5 separate regions of the Homo sapiens genome follow, and all the other regions are linked to region 5. The links are contacts of gene promoters, found by promoter capture Hi-C in blood cells and fetal thymus (Javierre and others, 2016). All regions are on one chromosome and are shown on one strand. The core of a region is centred on a gene start or on the middle of the fragment in contact, and the rest is flanking DNA. Distances in the headings are between cores, read along the strand shown.

What was found. The method cuts DNA at HindIII sites, captures the fragments that hold promoters and counts their contacts. A CHiCAGO score of 5 or more calls a contact.
Region 1: a contact is called between the fragment with the promoter of USP24 here and the fragment with the promoter of USP1 in region 5, in 1 of 17 cell types (non-activated CD4 T cells). The highest score is 5.6, in non-activated CD4 T cells.
Region 2: a contact is called between the fragment with the promoter of CTH here and the fragment with the promoter of USP1 in region 5, in 3 of 17 cell types (naive CD8 T cells, activated CD4 T cells and total B cells). The highest score is 13.1, in naive CD8 T cells.
Region 3: a contact is called between a fragment that was not itself captured here and the fragment with the promoter of USP1 in region 5, in 5 of 17 cell types (fetal thymus, activated CD4 T cells, non-activated CD4 T cells and 2 more). The highest score is 13.3, in fetal thymus.
Region 4: a fragment that was not itself captured here is called in contact with the fragment with the promoter of USP1 in region 5 in 4 of 17 cell types (non-activated CD4 T cells, total B cells, total CD8 T cells and 1 more); the score reaches 7.9 in non-activated CD4 T cells.

What each region holds. Positions count from the first base shown.
Region 1 is chr1:55,214,025-55,217,255 of GRCh38, reverse strand. USP24 (ubiquitin specific peptidase 24) reads left to right here and starts at 1,892. Exons shown (of 68, transcript NM_015306.3): 1 at 1,892-2,466. The coding sequence starts at 2,143. It overlaps LOC100507634 (a long non-coding RNA gene), which reads right to left and starts at 1,848. Exons shown (of 1, transcript NR_038320.1): 1 at 1-1,848. RefSeq lists silencers at 1,715-2,224, 2,295-2,484 and an enhancer at 2,945-3,004. The HindIII fragment of the contact is 9,819 bases long and covers 1-3,231 here.
Region 2 is chr1:70,409,735-70,412,517 of GRCh38, reverse strand. CTH (cystathionine gamma-lyase) reads right to left here and starts at 1,250. Exons shown (of 12, transcript NM_001902.6): 1 at 935-1,250. The coding sequence starts at 1,102. RefSeq lists a silencer at 1,210-1,359 and an enhancer at 1,420-1,679. The HindIII fragment of the contact is 3,560 bases long and covers 1-2,448 here.
Region 3 is chr1:67,681,830-67,684,910 of GRCh38, reverse strand. No RefSeq gene overlaps it. Among named protein-coding and RNA genes, the nearest start is that of GADD45A, 1.8 kb to the left of the region's middle. RefSeq lists a silencer at 1-46 and a cis regulatory region at 1,809-2,301. The HindIII fragment of the contact is 1,492 bases long and covers 620-2,111 here.
Region 4 is chr1:70,351,094-70,354,327 of GRCh38, reverse strand. ANKRD13C (ankyrin repeat domain 13C) reads left to right here. Exons shown (of 13, transcript NM_030816.5): 1 at 1-349. Among named protein-coding and RNA genes, the nearest start is that of ANKRD13C, 2.0 kb to the left of the region's middle. RefSeq lists enhancers at 1-740, 1-1,199. The HindIII fragment of the contact is 2,561 bases long and covers 67-2,627 here.
Region 5 is chr1:62,435,759-62,438,961 of GRCh38, reverse strand. USP1 (ubiquitin specific peptidase 1) reads right to left here and starts at 1,913. Exons shown (of 9, transcript NM_003368.5): 1 at 1,562-1,913. RefSeq lists a silencer at 1,257-1,316 and enhancers at 2,017-2,086, 1,911-2,678, 2,647-2,996, 2,679-3,203. The HindIII fragment of the contact is 3,360 bases long and covers 1-3,203 here.

The sequences.
Region 1 (3,231 bases), core at 643-3,142, 7.2 Mb after region 5:
AAAAATTTTATTTCAATATGTACATTGTGACCCAAACCAATTATAGGCATTCCTTCTTGTCATTGTTGTTCAGAAGTGTGAGGTTTCCTTTTGTTACTTTTAATTAAAAAATTGAGACTTTATTTGCTTTGGATATGAGGCCTAGGCTTTATAATGTCGCCTTTAATGGAAACAACAAATACAGTAACTTCATTTAAAAGTAAACAATAGTGACAAATTCACCCTGTAAATCAAATTGCTGGTATTTATAAACACAGGTGGCAAGTTACTAGGTACGAAGGGTTCGTGGTCCAGGGGAAAATATGCCAGCAGAGTGCAGAGACAATGTCTAGGTACCGGCCCTAATTTAATATTTGGTGTATGTAAAGATCTTCGTGAGTGCTGGGCTGGCAACAGCAGGGGTTTGATGGGATGAAAAAGTAAGGTTAGCTGGATTTCAGGTTCAGGAAGAAACCAGGATGAGGACATTAGAAGATGAACTCAGCAAGTATGTAGGAATAGGCATAGGAGATGAACTCAGCAAGAATGAAGGGATATCCGAATCTTGGGAAAGGGTGGGAAAATAACCTAGAGAACTATGGATTGAAGGAAATTGAAGAGGAAAAATAGCAAGGACTTAGGCCCAGGACGGCTTTGAATGCGGCTCAGCACAAATTCGTAAACTTCTTAAAACATGATGAGATTTTTTAAAAGTTTCATCAGCTACCATTAGCGTTAGAATATTTTATATGTGGTCCAAGACAATTTTTCTCCTTCCAATGTAGCCCAGGGAAGCCAAAAGATTGGACACCCTTGGCTTAGATGGTGGAGTCAAGGGAACTAAAGATATGACCCCAGTGTGCCAATGCCAAAGGTGAGAAGAGAAAGCAAAGAAAGCAGGCCTTTAAAGAGGTAGAGGAATCCTCAAAGGTGGAAAGAAACAGGGATAGGATGCTGCCCAAGAGGCAGGGACAAAGAATCGGAGCCAAAGACTGCGGTAAAAATGTGGGAAGGTGATGTCCACGATGTTCGAACGAGTCCGTGGCCGAAGGAAGTAAGAGTCTGGGTTTCTGGAGGTTTTCATACAGAGAACTGGGATTTAGATTTCGGGCTGGAAAAATATATTTTGGACTCTCAGGGGCTTTCAGGGTAAGAGTTCGGTAGAGTTCAGTCAGCTTGGCGGAGACAGGTAGTCAGTTAATGTTGGAAGGAAAATTCGGACAGCTGGGAATTAATTTCAACGGGTTTAGGGTGATTTCGGCAAGGGCTGGCGGGGCTAGGGTCGAGTGTGAATTTCGTCTTGGGTGGTCCACGCGTCTGGTTTGGGCAGGAATTTCTGTGGGCAGCGAGGCGTATTCAGGCAGCGTTGCGGGTGAATCTGCGTGGGATGAGGGTGGATTTCCTTCAGGACTGCGGTGCATTTCAGGCCGGGGTGGAGGTGCCTCACAGCCGCGGCGCAGGGAATTCCCTCTAGGATGGGGGAGCGGGTCGGGCGGCGCCGGCCAGGGAGGGGAAGTCCAACGGGGGTTCGGAGAGGCTCGGGGGACTCGGACGGAGAGAAGCCGGGTCGCGGCTGCGGAGGCTCGGCCGGCCAAGGGATTTCCGCGACGTTCAGCGCTGCGAGCTGCGCGGCGCTGCGGCCCCTCCCGTCCCGGGGGAACCTGTTGCCGGCGAAACAGGCGGGCGGTGGCGACGATGGAGAAGCCTTCCTCGCCTCTGCCTGGCTGCACGGCAGCCCTTTCACCTTAGGCACGCTCCGCGGCGCGGCCCCTCCCTCCGCTCCTTCGTTTAAAACAAACAGAATACGCCGCCGCCAACCCTAGCCTGCCAACGGCGAGCACGGTCGCCTCCCGTGCCGCTTCCGGGAGCCGAGGCGCGGCCCCGCCGCCCGGGGAGGAGGAGGCGGAGGGGGAGGAGGCCAACATGGCGGCGCGCAGGGCTGGGCCGGGCCGCAGCCGCGCCTGAGCGCCTCACCGCACTAGCTCGGCTCGCAGGACCCAAGCCCGCACCCAGCCTGGCCCGGCTGCTGCGGAGCACCCGGGGCAGGAACGCAGGGGCCAACCTGGGCGCGGAGGCGGCGCGGAGGGTGCGCCGCGCGGCCCGCCAGGCCCGGGACCCGTAGCTTCGCCGTGCGCTGGCCGGGGCGGCCAGGAGGCCCAAGCCATGGAATCGGAGGAGGAGCAGCACATGACCACGCTGCTGTGCATGGGCTTCTCAGACCCCGCCACCATCCGCAAGGCCCTGCGCCTGGCCAAGAACGACATTAACGAGGCCGTGGCACTGCTCACCAACGAGCGGCCGGGCCTCGACTACGGCGGCTACGAGCCCATGGACAGCGGCGGTGGCCCCAGCCCCGGGCCCGGCGGGGGCCCGCGGGGCGACGGCGGAGGTGACGGCGGCGGCGGCGGCCCCTCCCGCGGCGGGAGCACCGGAGGCGGGGGCGGCTTCGACCCCCCGCCCGCCTACCACGAGGTGGTGGACGCGGAGGTGAGGAGGGGCAACCCCAGACCTCTGTGGGAAGCCACTGGGCTGGAGTTCCTGGGAGGGGACACACCCCGCTGGGCTTGGTGTGGGGAGAGAGGGCATTCGACTGGGGCTTTAGTGGGGGCGGGGCGGAGAGAGAGAGAGAAGCCCCAGGCTCCAGTTGGGAACCGAAGTCACTTGATTGGGGGTAAGTGGGGAGAGGGACCCATAGGAGAGGCGTGTGAAAGGGAATTAGGGATGCGCAGCGGAGCTGTGGGTTGGGGTGAGGAGGGGTCCCTTAGGCTTCCGGCTATGCACGCCGACGATGGGGAGGAGGCTCCAGGGCTATCATCCGAGATGGGAGGACAGACACTTGAGCATATAGTGGGAAGGATGCGTGCAGTAGGGGGTCGGAAATGGGGTACTAGTGCACTAGGCTAGGTCGGAGATTTTGTGGCACGAGGTTTCAGTGAAGGATTGGCGGAGGCACCAGGCTCAGAGTCAGAAAAAGCGGTGTGGGCCGGCCAGAGTAGTGGTCTTTGACAGGATCACAGGAAAACTGTTGGGGTTAGGAGTGAGGTTGGGGTTTTAGCCAAGGGTCGGAAAGGGGGGGCATTGAGTAGGATTTAAAATGAAGAGGGAAGGGGCCGCGGCCAGGAATGAGGACTTGAATAAAATCAGGTATGAGAGCAGTGGGGATTGCACTGAGAGGGCAGAGGTGGGAGGCCTGGGCAGGGGTGGGAGCTGAGGAGGGTCTAGGCAGGGATGGGGACTGGAATTGGAAGATAG
Region 2 (2,783 bases), core at 1-2,500, 8.0 Mb before region 5:
AGCGATTCTCCTGCCTCAGCTTCCCGAGTAGCTGAGATTACCCGCCACCATGCCCAGCTAATTTATTTATTTTTAGTAGAGATGGGGTTTCACCATGTTGGCCAGGCTGGGCTCGAACTCCTGTCCTCAGGTGATCCACCCGCCTCAGCCTCCCAAAGTGCTGGGATTACAGGCGTAAGCCACTGCACCCGGTCATGAGTTGTGTTCTTAATCACTAAGCCACAGTGCTTAAATGACGCAATAGGCTAAATTGTTACTAGCATTATTAGAGATAGCATAGTGTAGCTGAGTGCCTAGGAGTTGGTTCCTAAAGCAACCTCAAGTTTCTAAAGTTTGAATTCCATCTCCAATACTTACTAGTCTAAGGCTAGTTACTTAACTCCCTAAATCTCAGCTTCTTTATTGGGAAAAAATGAGAATTCGGTTCAGACTAGGGTTGTTGTTAGGATTAGATGAGACAATACATGTAATACACATGATATATACGAGCACGTATTTGGCATATAGTAGGTACTCAATAACTATTCATACAGCTACTGGAAACAATCTTAATTCTAGTCAAGTTATCAGACCCTTAATATTTTTTAAGCTGACTCCGTACTACATCTTTAAAATTTATGCTGCTAAAGGTAACTCAAAAAAGTTATGACCTTCGATTTTTAATTGCAAATTTGTCAAAATCACCTGAATTTCAGGCCAAATCTAAATGGCAAGCTGGACAAACGGCTCCTTCCAGTCCTGCTTATCAAAAGAAATACGATCACTGGACCATCCGATACAAAGCTGTGCTGCAAGAATTACAGTGTAGAAACATCTTTCGGTTGCCTTCCTAATTTATAAGTCATATTATAAATTACTTACATGCCTTTCAAATTCATAAGCCGTATCTCTTTTACCGCCCAACTGTGGACAGCCCCAGACAGACCCAGCTCACCGAGTGCTGGCCAGGCGCCCCTTGCTTGAACGTGGTGGACAGTGAGATGGGGGGCACTACAGCCCTGGAGGTCCATTGCTCTGGATCCTGGCCCACATGGATCGCCTGCGTGGCGAAATGTTGGAAGTGTGGCAGGAAACCTTGTGAGGAGGCGTCTTTTTCCTGCATGCTGAACCGCGAAAGAAGAAGAGAGGAAAAGAACACCGAAGATATAACCAGTCGAAGCCGGGTGTCCGGGGTTGGGAGAGACAGAAGGATCAGGCGAGAAGGAGCTAAAGCACGCAGGTAGAGCCGACGGCGAGCGCACTAAAGCGGCACACAGCGATTGTTGGGGTGGATTTTATTAGCGGGTCTGCAGTCTCACGATCACAGTGGGGCGGGACCAGCGCGGCCCATTGAGCGCAGGCCCGACGCGTCTCCCGCTCCTTATTGGCTGACAGCAGAGGCGTTGCCTGAAACGTCACCGCGACCGCCCCACCCAGTGCACAAAGCGGAGTGAAGCTGGAGTCCCTGGGTCCAAGTGGTGTTAGTCCCTGCGGGCGAAATTCCTGAGTACCCGTCCTGAGGAGGCTGCCATGCTGGCTCCTGAGAGCCACCCGGGCGTCTCTGTGACCTCAGGCCGGAGGTTCGCCCGAGACGTGGCGGAAAGCTGGCTTAGTGTTGAAACCGGGTAACTGTAAACAGACCACATAAATAGCCTTCTTTTACTGTGGTAGTTACCTCTGACCACCATCCTTTGCCCTGAGGGCGGTGCTAAAAGACGTAAGCCACAACGTGGAGGGTGGTTAAGAAAACAGTTGCCCAAGCCGCCCAGTTTGCAGCTTGGATTCTCATCAGTCACAGCTTGCGTTTTAGGTACACTGAACTCTGTAATGACCCAGTGCTTACGATGACGAAACGATGACTAGAAGTGAAGGTTAAATTGTTCGTAAGACATAACGAAGCTACTGTAGTGAGGACGTCTATGCACAACTCTGGCAGCTTCCTAAAAGTTAGTCAATCTTGAGCTTTTTCAAGCATCATTATCTTCTTTTAAAGTACAGAGAGAAACTCCCCCTAATGAGAAAGATAATGTGGCTTTGAAATACTTACTGGAGCCTAACATCCTTACACAAAATGCTTTTGCTTTTACACAACAGCAACATCCCTGCAGGAAAAAGGATTGTTTACCACTCACCTGCGCCCAGAGCCCTACTCTCAGAAGAATCACTGCTTTAAAACAAAAATCTCCCTGTTCCCTAAGCAATACAGACTTGACCTACTTACTATTGTGGCTGTTTTCTAGCACCAGGAAATTTGGGGATATTTCTGTTGTTGCAAAATATTCGCTAAAGATCTAAAACTTTATTAAACAAATTAAGAACAAGGAGAATAAGGAATAAACAGCTCTTAAAATTTACAGTTTGAAAGAAAGATATGAAGAGAAAGAATGAGGCAATTTGCTTTTCAAATTAGCTTTAGGGACATTTAACCCATTAAGCACTAGAGGAGTGGTGCTTGAGGGCCTACAAGCTTTTAGAATCCTACCAAACTTTGTATGGCTGGGGGAAAAAATGGATAGACTTCAAAACACTAATGTATATTAATACATATTTAATTAATATTTTTCTTTTAAAAATATAACATCAACTGCAACTCACCTCAATATTTATGTATAACTATAGGTGGGTATTTTTGTGTAATATGATATGGCATTTAGGGGCCAAAAGGGTCTAAAACAGTTCCAATTAGTTTTACCTCCTAATATTTGCTGACAAACCCTGAGTTGCATAAATACAGACATTTTATTTAGTGTACTGTAATAAAGAATCATTCAGAAGACAGCACTAGGCTGGGTGCATTGGCTAAC
Region 3 (3,081 bases), core at 116-2,615, 5.2 Mb before region 5:
GAGGTGGCCTCAGCTTGGGCTGAAGCAGGCTGCCAAGTGTTTTTCTATAATAGTTGCGGCACTTTTTTCTTATTATCTTTTCATGTCTTTTGTTTTAAGGGGTGGCTATTAAAATCTATTTCCAGGGTTAATGCACTGAAGTCTAGTAATTATTAGTAAGCAGGTTACATTAAAAAAGTGTCTCCAGACCTCCGGGGCAAAGTTTACCTCAGAAGTGTTGTTTATCTAAGTCTAGGCGAAGCTGCTTATTAGCAGTAGTATTATTTCGGTGCCCTGATGGCTGGTTTGATTTATTTTTGGAAAGCTGCAAGGGTTGGAAGCTGAAAAAAGAAAAACCAACCCGTTTGTATTCAGGGATGGCAGGGAACCAAGTTAGAATCTTTTCCACAGAAAGCAGAACGGTTTCCCACCTGCCCGGTGTAACTGGGAAATCGTGAGCTGGTCTGCGTGGGGAGCTGGTGACCACATGTGGGAATCCCTGGCAACCCAGATTCTCCTTTCTCAAAGAGCCTTGCCCAAACAAGGATCCTTCTGGACGCCCACCAGCTGAGAGACAACCATCTGACACCCACACAGCCCACAAGTCTAAATTCAAAATGCTCTCGATATGCCCTAAGCTTCCTTTCCTAACGTATGTATGTCGTTACCTTCCACAGAGAGCCTCCTATGATCTCACTGTGAATTATTGATGTTAGATGCTGAATCATGAAGCTGTAACTATAGGAAGTTTTTAGTCATATGCTAAAATTTCACCTTTGAGATAATGGCAACTTGTAGGTGGAAAGCAGACCTTTAAAACTGCAAATGGTAGTTACACATTTTTGAAAAACAAACTTTAATATATAGACTCTCACTGAGTAGTTCAAAAGTCCCTTCCTTTGTTTTATGGTTTATGCAATAAAAGCAAAAACATTTCTTAAACCTACTGAAGTCATCAAAAGTGGTGAAAATGGCTCCCACATGCTTGCATTCAAAACAGTGCTTGCATTATTAAGGTTGCTGTACAGCCAAAGGTCACAGAAGTAATTTCTGCAAAGGTACCTGGAAGTTTTGCACCCTTATGTTTTTATCACTCTAGACAAAATATTCTCCAGCTCTCTTGATCTTAATTTGGTGGAAAAGAAAAGTGATAGGTTTTCTGGTTCATTTATTTGAGTTGTCATTTTGCACTCATTTTTTCACTGTGTTGTCAGCCATGGACAACATTTGAGTAAAGAAATGGTCATGGTCAGTGCATAATTCACCTAAGCATGACTATGTATCTCATATCTATGCCTTAAATCTTAACATTTGATGTCTTTCTTAAAGAATTCCTCAACATTGAAATTTAGGTAGGTTACCGAAGCATTTTCAGTTTTGCAGACAAAACCTGAATTACACAATCTAGCCTGAGTCATCATTTGGCGATTGTTAATATGTTCCGTGGAACTCCAAGGTTCTATCCACTAGGCATTTCTTAGAGGTTCTTGGGAAGAAAATGTGATCACAGCAAGCTGACAAAGAATTAGGGAATCATGTGAGTTTCTTGACAGCAAGGACTTCATCAGTTTGGTGTCCTCAGCTCCTAGTACAATACCTGCATTTAGTAGAAGCACAGTCAAGGTTTATTGAGTTGAATAGAATTTGAGAGTTAAATAAGATATCAGAATCCTGCAGTCCTGTGCATTGCATGAATTCTAACATATTGCACATTTAACGTTAGTTCAAAAACACTTTTGCCTGTCTTCTTCTATACCAAGAACTGTACAATTCCTGGTCCTTTGCCTTTAAAGAGCTTAGGCTCTTATTGGTATGTCCATGCTTGAACTGGATTTTGGGACAAAATAGTATGCACTGTCATCAGCTAGCTATGCTGAAAGTCCCATGACTTCAGTCATCTGAATGGAGGCTGTAGGACAGTAGAACCGGTGTATTGTTTACACCAATTCAAATGAACCACAGTCCTAAAGTGCCCCACCCAAGTCGACTATATCCAGTAAAAATGTGATATCAAATGGTTACTTCTTATTATAGGCTTAGTCCTCCACTCAAAAATTATACTGCATGCTATATTTGACTTCATCAGAAAGTTATTTGCCCAAGTATTTTGGGGATTTTCTCTGAGATAAGCTTGGGCTTCCAGTATGCAAAAATATTCATTTGTCATACTTTCTGACTCAGATACGTTACATCATTTTGCCTGATTGCTGAGTATACCTAGAATGTTTTCTCAGTGATTATCTTCAAAGTTGGGCCTCATGACTGGAAGTAAAAACTGCATTTAGCTACACAGTTAGATTGTAGTTACACATTAGAATGGACATAGTTGATTTATCATTAACTGTTTATTAGTCCTGGAGGACATTGATAGTCAATGGTAAATCAGAGAAATTTTCCTATATCAATATTATATATATATATATATTTCTTTATAATCAGTGTGATAACTCCAATATGTGATGTCATTTTAAAAACCACTACAGGTAACTCTGACAACTGCCAAGTACACAGGAGTAGAATGCTCTTGTAGTAATGTTTGTAAAGATACCAAATGATTATATTTAGAAATCATATGGAAATATATACTCAAGAATTGTTCAATTATTTTAGCACTGCTACTTGCTTTGCATATTAAAGATCTTTTTGATATTTTAGTCATGCTTATCCTACATACATTCCTACTACTGGTTCCATAATGCAGAATTATTCTTTCTTTCTTTCAAAAAACAATCAATGCTTTAACATCTGAAAGAAATATAATGCTTGTTATTTCAGTATTAGATCATTGTCCACATCAAAGGAGAAGATCAGTTCAACTATGATGGATGTATTTTCCACCTACCTAGAATTGTATTGTATTATTTTTTCTTGTTAAAAATCATAAGGTTCCTGGTCAGGTGCAGTAGCTCACGCCTGTAATCCCAGCACTTTGAGAGGCTGAGGAGGTCGGATCACCTGAGGTCAGGAGTTCAAAACCAGCCTGGCCAACATGGTAAAACCCCACCTCTACTAAAAATACAAAAATTAGTTGGGGCCAGGTGTGGTGGCTCACACCTGTAATCCCAGCACTTTGGGAGGCCAAGGCGGGTGGATCACCTGAGG
Region 4 (3,234 bases), core at 98-2,597, 7.9 Mb before region 5:
GAGGAAGCGGCGGCTGCCCTCGGCGGTACCTTTACCAGAAGCAGGATTGGCAAGGGCGGCAAAGCTTGTCATAAGATCTTCAGTAACCATCACCACCGGCTACAGCTGAAGGCAGCTCCGGCCTCCTCCAATCCCCCCGGCGCCCCGGCTCTGCCGCTGCACAATTCCTCCGTGACTGCCAACTCCCAGTCCCCGGCCCTTCTGGCCGGCACCAACCCCGTTGCTGTCGTCGCGGATGGAGGCAGTTGCCCCGCACACTACCCGGTGCACGAGTGCGTCTTCAAGGGGGATGTGAGGAGACTCTCCTCTCTCATCCGCACGCACAATATCGGGCAGAAAGATAATCACGGTGAGGAGTGCTAGCCCCTCTCCACCTCTCTCCTTCCCCGAGCCTAGGGTGTGCCTCCCCAGGCTTCTGGAATCCTAGGCCCCCTCCAGCAGACTCTTCTTTTTGCCCATCATCCGGGCCGTTCGGTAAATCATGATCGACTCAGTAATAGCGTGCCAGTGGTCAAGGGGTTGGTTCTTGTGGGTGCAAAGGAATGTATCCTCCTTGCCCACTTCAAAGTTTGTCGTGAGAAGCTGTTTTGTTTGAGACAGGCCTTCGATTTGCTGATTCTGGACTGTCAGAAATTTTAGGTTGCCTCCCACCCAACATGGTTTTCTCCCTTTGTTTATGGAGCTATATATCTTTATTTCTCTCTCTTCCCCCTACCTTGGCATTTTAAATTTTGAACGCATAAATTGCCCTCCTCCCTTCATTGCTCACATACAGATCCCATCTTGACTGCAACTGGTTGTGATTTTGCCTGCCACCAGGTTGTTTCTTTTTTGTCTGCTTTCAGTAAACTTAGAATGTTAGATTTCTGAAAGCCACACAGTAGAAATTTGTTGGTATTTGATACGTAGAACAGTTAAAGTGACTTCTCAACAGCCGATTTTTGTTTGAGTAGAGATTTGATTTTTTGCTTGTTTTAAGTAGATAATTGCTAATAGTAATGTCTCATCTTGATGACTGTGACTAAAAATAGTATTATGATTTTTATGGTAATTTTATCTTAGTCAATATTGACCATTTCTTTTTGCCTTGTCAGCTGAATTTTTTGTTTAATTCTAAAAAATAATGTGACTGAGTTGACTTTTAAGCAACAGTAAATTTATTATTGAAGACTAATGTGAACACTGACATTTTAACATTTAATAGCCGTTTTAAACTGGGTAGTTGGCAAATATTGTTGATCGCTCTGCTATTAATATGAAAATTGTATACATTCAGTTAGAACACACTGAACCAACTTTGTGCTCAAAATGATATACGTATCAATGAAATATTTGCCTGTGAAATAAGCTCACTTAATTCCATTGGATCGTAGGCTTTTTAGGACAAAAATTCAGATAAAAAAAACGAGTAAGATTTCTCTTGGCTGTATAATTATCTAACAACTGCATTTGTTTTCAGAATTTACAATGTTGTAATTGTAATAAAATCACCACCTATCATTTATCATAAATCCCCAAAAAAGTATGTTAAAGTTGCAGCCAGTTTTTCTTTCCTACATTTAAATTACTTAATCATTTTACTATTATAGTACAAGGATAATGTTGTTTGTTGATGATGGTAATTCTATGCTAGCCCTTTGGAAAACAGTTGTTAGTGGGAGATGGGTTGTAGCTTCAGTTTATTAGTCTATTATGAGGAAGTTTTTCAAATTTGGTTTACATAGTAGCCATAGTTACATTACCTTGAAATATCCCTGAAACAGATAAAAGGTTTGAGAGTTAACTCCCTTTGAAAGAAGAGATGGATGAATATCACTGAAGCTATTGAATTACAGGATTGTTGGGCTTCCATGTCTTCTTCAACCCAACATTTAGGAGTACATTTGTTTAAGTTCAAATTCTGTTCAAAGTAATTAGAATCCTGTATACTCTTAAACTCTTGTCCTTAGCCCACTGAAATTAACTTTTTTTTTTTTTTTTTTTTTTTTGAGACGGAGTCTTGCTCTGTCGCCCAGGCTGGAGTGCAGTGGTGCAATCTCCGCTCACTGCAAGCTCCGCCTCCCGGGTTCACGCCATTCTCCTGCCTCAGCCTCCTGAGTAGCTGGTAGTACAGGCGCCCACCACCGCGCCAGGCTAATTTTTTTGTAATTTTAGTAGAGACGGGGTTTCACTGTGTGAGCCGGGATGGTCTCCATCTCCTGACCTCGTGATCTGCCCGCCTCGGCCTCCCAGAGTGCTGGGATTACAGGCCTGAGCCACCGCGCCTGGCCTTGAAATTCACTTTTTTAAAGGAAGGTTTTTATTGTGTTTAGCTGACCTTATATCATTGATGTTTCTGATTAATGTAACCGGTGGTTCACATACCTGGGGTAAATATAATTGCTTTCCCCCCTGCAATGTGTACATGCTCATCTCCTACAGTGAGGTGTCCTAGGAACTGTGGCTTCAATTTAATGTGCTTCTTATTTAGTCATTTTTTCTCCCATAGCCTCATAGATTTTTCTGATACATTATTACTTTTAGTCTTGACATTTTACTAACCTGGATGCTTTTAGATTTTTAGGATATTTTTGCTTTAAAATTATAGAAGATAAATACTTATAAAATCACTTAAACAACAGCAAGCTTGGCCAGGTGCGGTGGCTCACACCTGTAATCCCAGCAGTTTGAGAGGCCGAGGTGGGTGGATTACCTGAGGTCAGGAGTTCAAGACCAGCCTGACCAACATAGTGAAACCCCGTCTCTACTGAAAATATGAAAATTAGCCTGGCATGGTGGTGCATGCTTGTAATCCCAGCTATTTGGGAAGCTGAGGCAGGAGGATCGCTTGAACCTGGGAGGCTGAGGTTGCAGTGAGCCAAGATCGCACCGTTGCACTCCAGCCTGGGTAACAGAGTGAGACTCCGTCTCAATAAATAAATAAAATAAAATAAATAAATAAATGATGTATATTCTCTTTGGATTGCTTTAACATAAATGCATAGCAGAATAAGACACTCATACAGGTACATAGCAGAGCCAGACAATTATACCATGTATTACATAGTTTTATGTTCACCGTAAGGATTCCTTTCACAACATGATGATGACAGTGATGATTATTGTCCTTATTATAGACACAATTTATCCAGTGGGTCAGCAGGGTGCTAAGTGTTTACATACATTGTAACATTTAATCCTCACAGCAGCCCTGCAAAGGAGTGCAGTGGAATGATCTGCTCTTGCTGTAGTCTC
Region 5 (3,203 bases), core at 664-3,163:
GTTATACCTAAAACCGTAAGTGAAAGATAAAACACAAGCAAAGTTGAGACCGTGATAAAAAAAACTGTTCGATGCACTTTGTGTAAATCCAATTCTTAATGCACTAGAAACCACAATACTCGTTTTCCAAACTTTTTAAAAAACTTTGGATTTTAAAAATAGTGCTTTGAGTAGGAAAAAAAGATGATTTGGTTTGCCATTTGCAACTTTCCCACCCTGTTTTAAAGTAAAACTTGCACGTGAAAAAAAATGGCAACATTTGTAGGAGTGTAGGAGTTAATATTTTCTACATCAGGCCTATTTTTCAGGACATGGGAGGAAAAATTATCTGACTAGAGTATTACCATAAAATTACTTAAAGCCCAAAACTTCAGCAACGAGTTTCAAATTTAAAATGCAGAGTAATAAAATGAACTACACAAGACTCACTCAAATTTCATCCTTAATAAGCATTTCACATGGCTGACACTGATCTAGGAATTCATACTGAACTCAGCACACTGAAACCATTTCTGAGACCCAAATCAGGAAGCACTGGAAAGCTGATCCATCTCTCCATTCTGTCTCCAACTTCACTTACTCTCCTGTCTACCTAATGCTTCTGAGGAAGCGCTGTCTTCTGAATGATAAACCAACCTGCGCTAAGTTCTCAGGGATCGCCAAGCATTAATGATTCTGATAAAAGGTTTTTCTCGAGAGCCAATTTAATGGATGACAGAAACTGGATCTCAAACCGACAGAGTAACCAGACTACACAGAAGGGAAGAATGATTAGGCAGGTGAAATAGCGGATCGTCAGCTTAATCAAAAAACCAAACCTCCTAGCCCCTCAAAGCAAAGCTCACACCGAGAATGTAACATTTTGCCAGGTGCAGTATCTTCCTTGCTATTTCTTGCTCCTGGCTTTCCTTGTAACTGGGGGGCTGTTACATCCAAAATATTTCTCCTGTAACTAAATCAACTTTCGCAGAAAGCACGACGAATCGACCATTATCTGTTGACAGCGTGAACACTCAGTCCCAATAGTTTTAAATTCTTTATAAGATGACACGACTCGATTCCGATTTTTCAACAAAAATCTACAAGGACATCTTCGCCAAGGTTTAAGACACGCGGCGTTCTAAACACTTCTTGAAAAAGTGTAAGTGAAAGAAAATGCGCGGTAAAATTTCGCAATTACCGACACAGGGCAACCTGCGTGGAAACGTTTCTTTCTCCCCATCCTTCACCGCTCTCGGGAACGGAAAGAAAGCTGGAAGGACGAGCAGCGACCAGGCTGCCCGGTCGGGGGAGGCTGGCGGCGGCGTCCTCGGCCCACACCCCCGCGCCGGGCGCCCTCGCCGCGGAGTTGGCCTATTTACGCCCAGCCCGCACCTGCCTTCTCGCGTCCCGGCGGCGGCAAGACAGGCGCCACGCCCGAGGCACACACGGCTCCCCCTGGCAGGTCGACCAGGGTGCGAGGCCAACACGGTCCCGGGGTCTCCCCGGCAGCTCCTCTCCCGCGCCGGCCGAACTTGCCCCCGCGCCCGGGAGCCGGCCCCTCCTCCCAGGCCCTCCTTACCTGGTCATGGCCCAAAGCGAAGTCCGCGGCGGTGACGCCGGCAAGTCCAACCCGAATGAGTGTGGGTGCGACAGGTGAGTCCCTGCCCCGAGCCCGCCGGGTCCCCGGCCCCAGGAAAATCTGGTCGGCTCGCCCTCCCCGCGGGGGAGTGACCATCCGCTCCCAAGAGCGGGAACCCCGACCGCCGCTCGCTCCCGTCTTGCACCAACACCAACTACATCCCGGGAGCGGCGCCCATCTGCGCCCGCCCCGGGAGAGCCAGGAGCGCAACAAGCAGCGGCCCCGCTCGCCGAACGCCTGAACCGCTAGGGTCTTTAGCACTCCGCCACCGAGGGGAACTTGGCGCGTTTTCCTCAGTCTCAGGACCCCCGTGTTTTAGCCTCCGCCCGCGCCAGCGCTGCGATTGAACGTGGCGTCCTTTGAAATTGCCGGTTCCAGTCTCCACGCTGCAGAGACACGAAAGGCAGGAGCCGTCTCGCGACGGCCACTCGCCCCTGGCACGCACGGGCTCCGGAGCCAGCTGGGACTGTAGTTCCCCAAAAGCCTAACGGGTTCCACAGTTTCAAACAACGCAGGCACAGAGCCGGGCAGCTCGTGCGGGTCCTCGCTGAGGGCGCGCGCGAGGTGCTAGCGGCCTGGCTGGCGGGCTCGAGCCTCACACCCTTTTTTTAACCATTCGTGCGCGCGAGTTGAGGGAAAAGCGTACGGGTCGGGAGACGGGACAGAGAGCAGACGGGATGGGCCACCACCTCGAGAAGGAGCCCAAATTCACCAATCCATGATGAACAATCCCCAAAACCGCGCCTCCCACCGCCCGGGGGAAGCCAATCAGAAGTACCTAGACCAAAGCCAATTAGATGGGCGGGAGCAGCAAGCCCATCTAATAGCAAAAAAGAAGAAAGGTGGGCTCCAGCCAATCATTGTTCGACATACGGAGTGTTCCTCAGGCGCGGTGCCCCTCCTTCCGCTCTCATTGGCGCTCGAGTGCGCGCTTTCGCTGCCGACTGTTAAAATCTTGTTTGGCGTTTTGTTAATCCTCGACGGTGGGACGCCGCGGAGGGTGCGGCTTCCGGAGCGAGGCCCTCGCGGTAAGCCCCGCCTCCGTTCGTGCGTACGCGCCCGGGCGGGGTTACCAAGAGAGCAGCTTCGGAAAATGGCTGCCCGGCTGGACGCCGCCGCGCTTGGGCTTTCAGTTCGGAGTCGCGGCCACACTAGGCCTAGGGCCATCCAATGAGACAAGGCGCTGCCACGGATAACAATACATGCTCAGGCGAATGCTGTAGAGCTGAGGCCCGGTCCTCAGCCCCTGCTCGCCTCATTTTCGCCTGTTTACCTCTTCCCTTTCTCGGCCGCAGGAGGAAACGAAAGAACAGTTTCAGGCCCAGCTCCGGCCGCGGGAGCTTCCCAGGGTTCCCGCGCGAGCCCTCCCAAAGGGTTCAGGAGCGGCAGGCAGGCCTCATCTGGTTGTGTGCTTCCTTTTGTGTTTGTGTGCCTGCTTTGGTGAGGTGACCTCAGCTCAAGTGCTGCAGTTAAGCAGGATACGTTCAGCCCAAATCCATTTAATCAAGTATTTTTAAGGTGCCTACTATGTGCCAGGCATTTTTCAAGGCGCGAGGGATGTAAAGGCATTCCCTGTCATAAA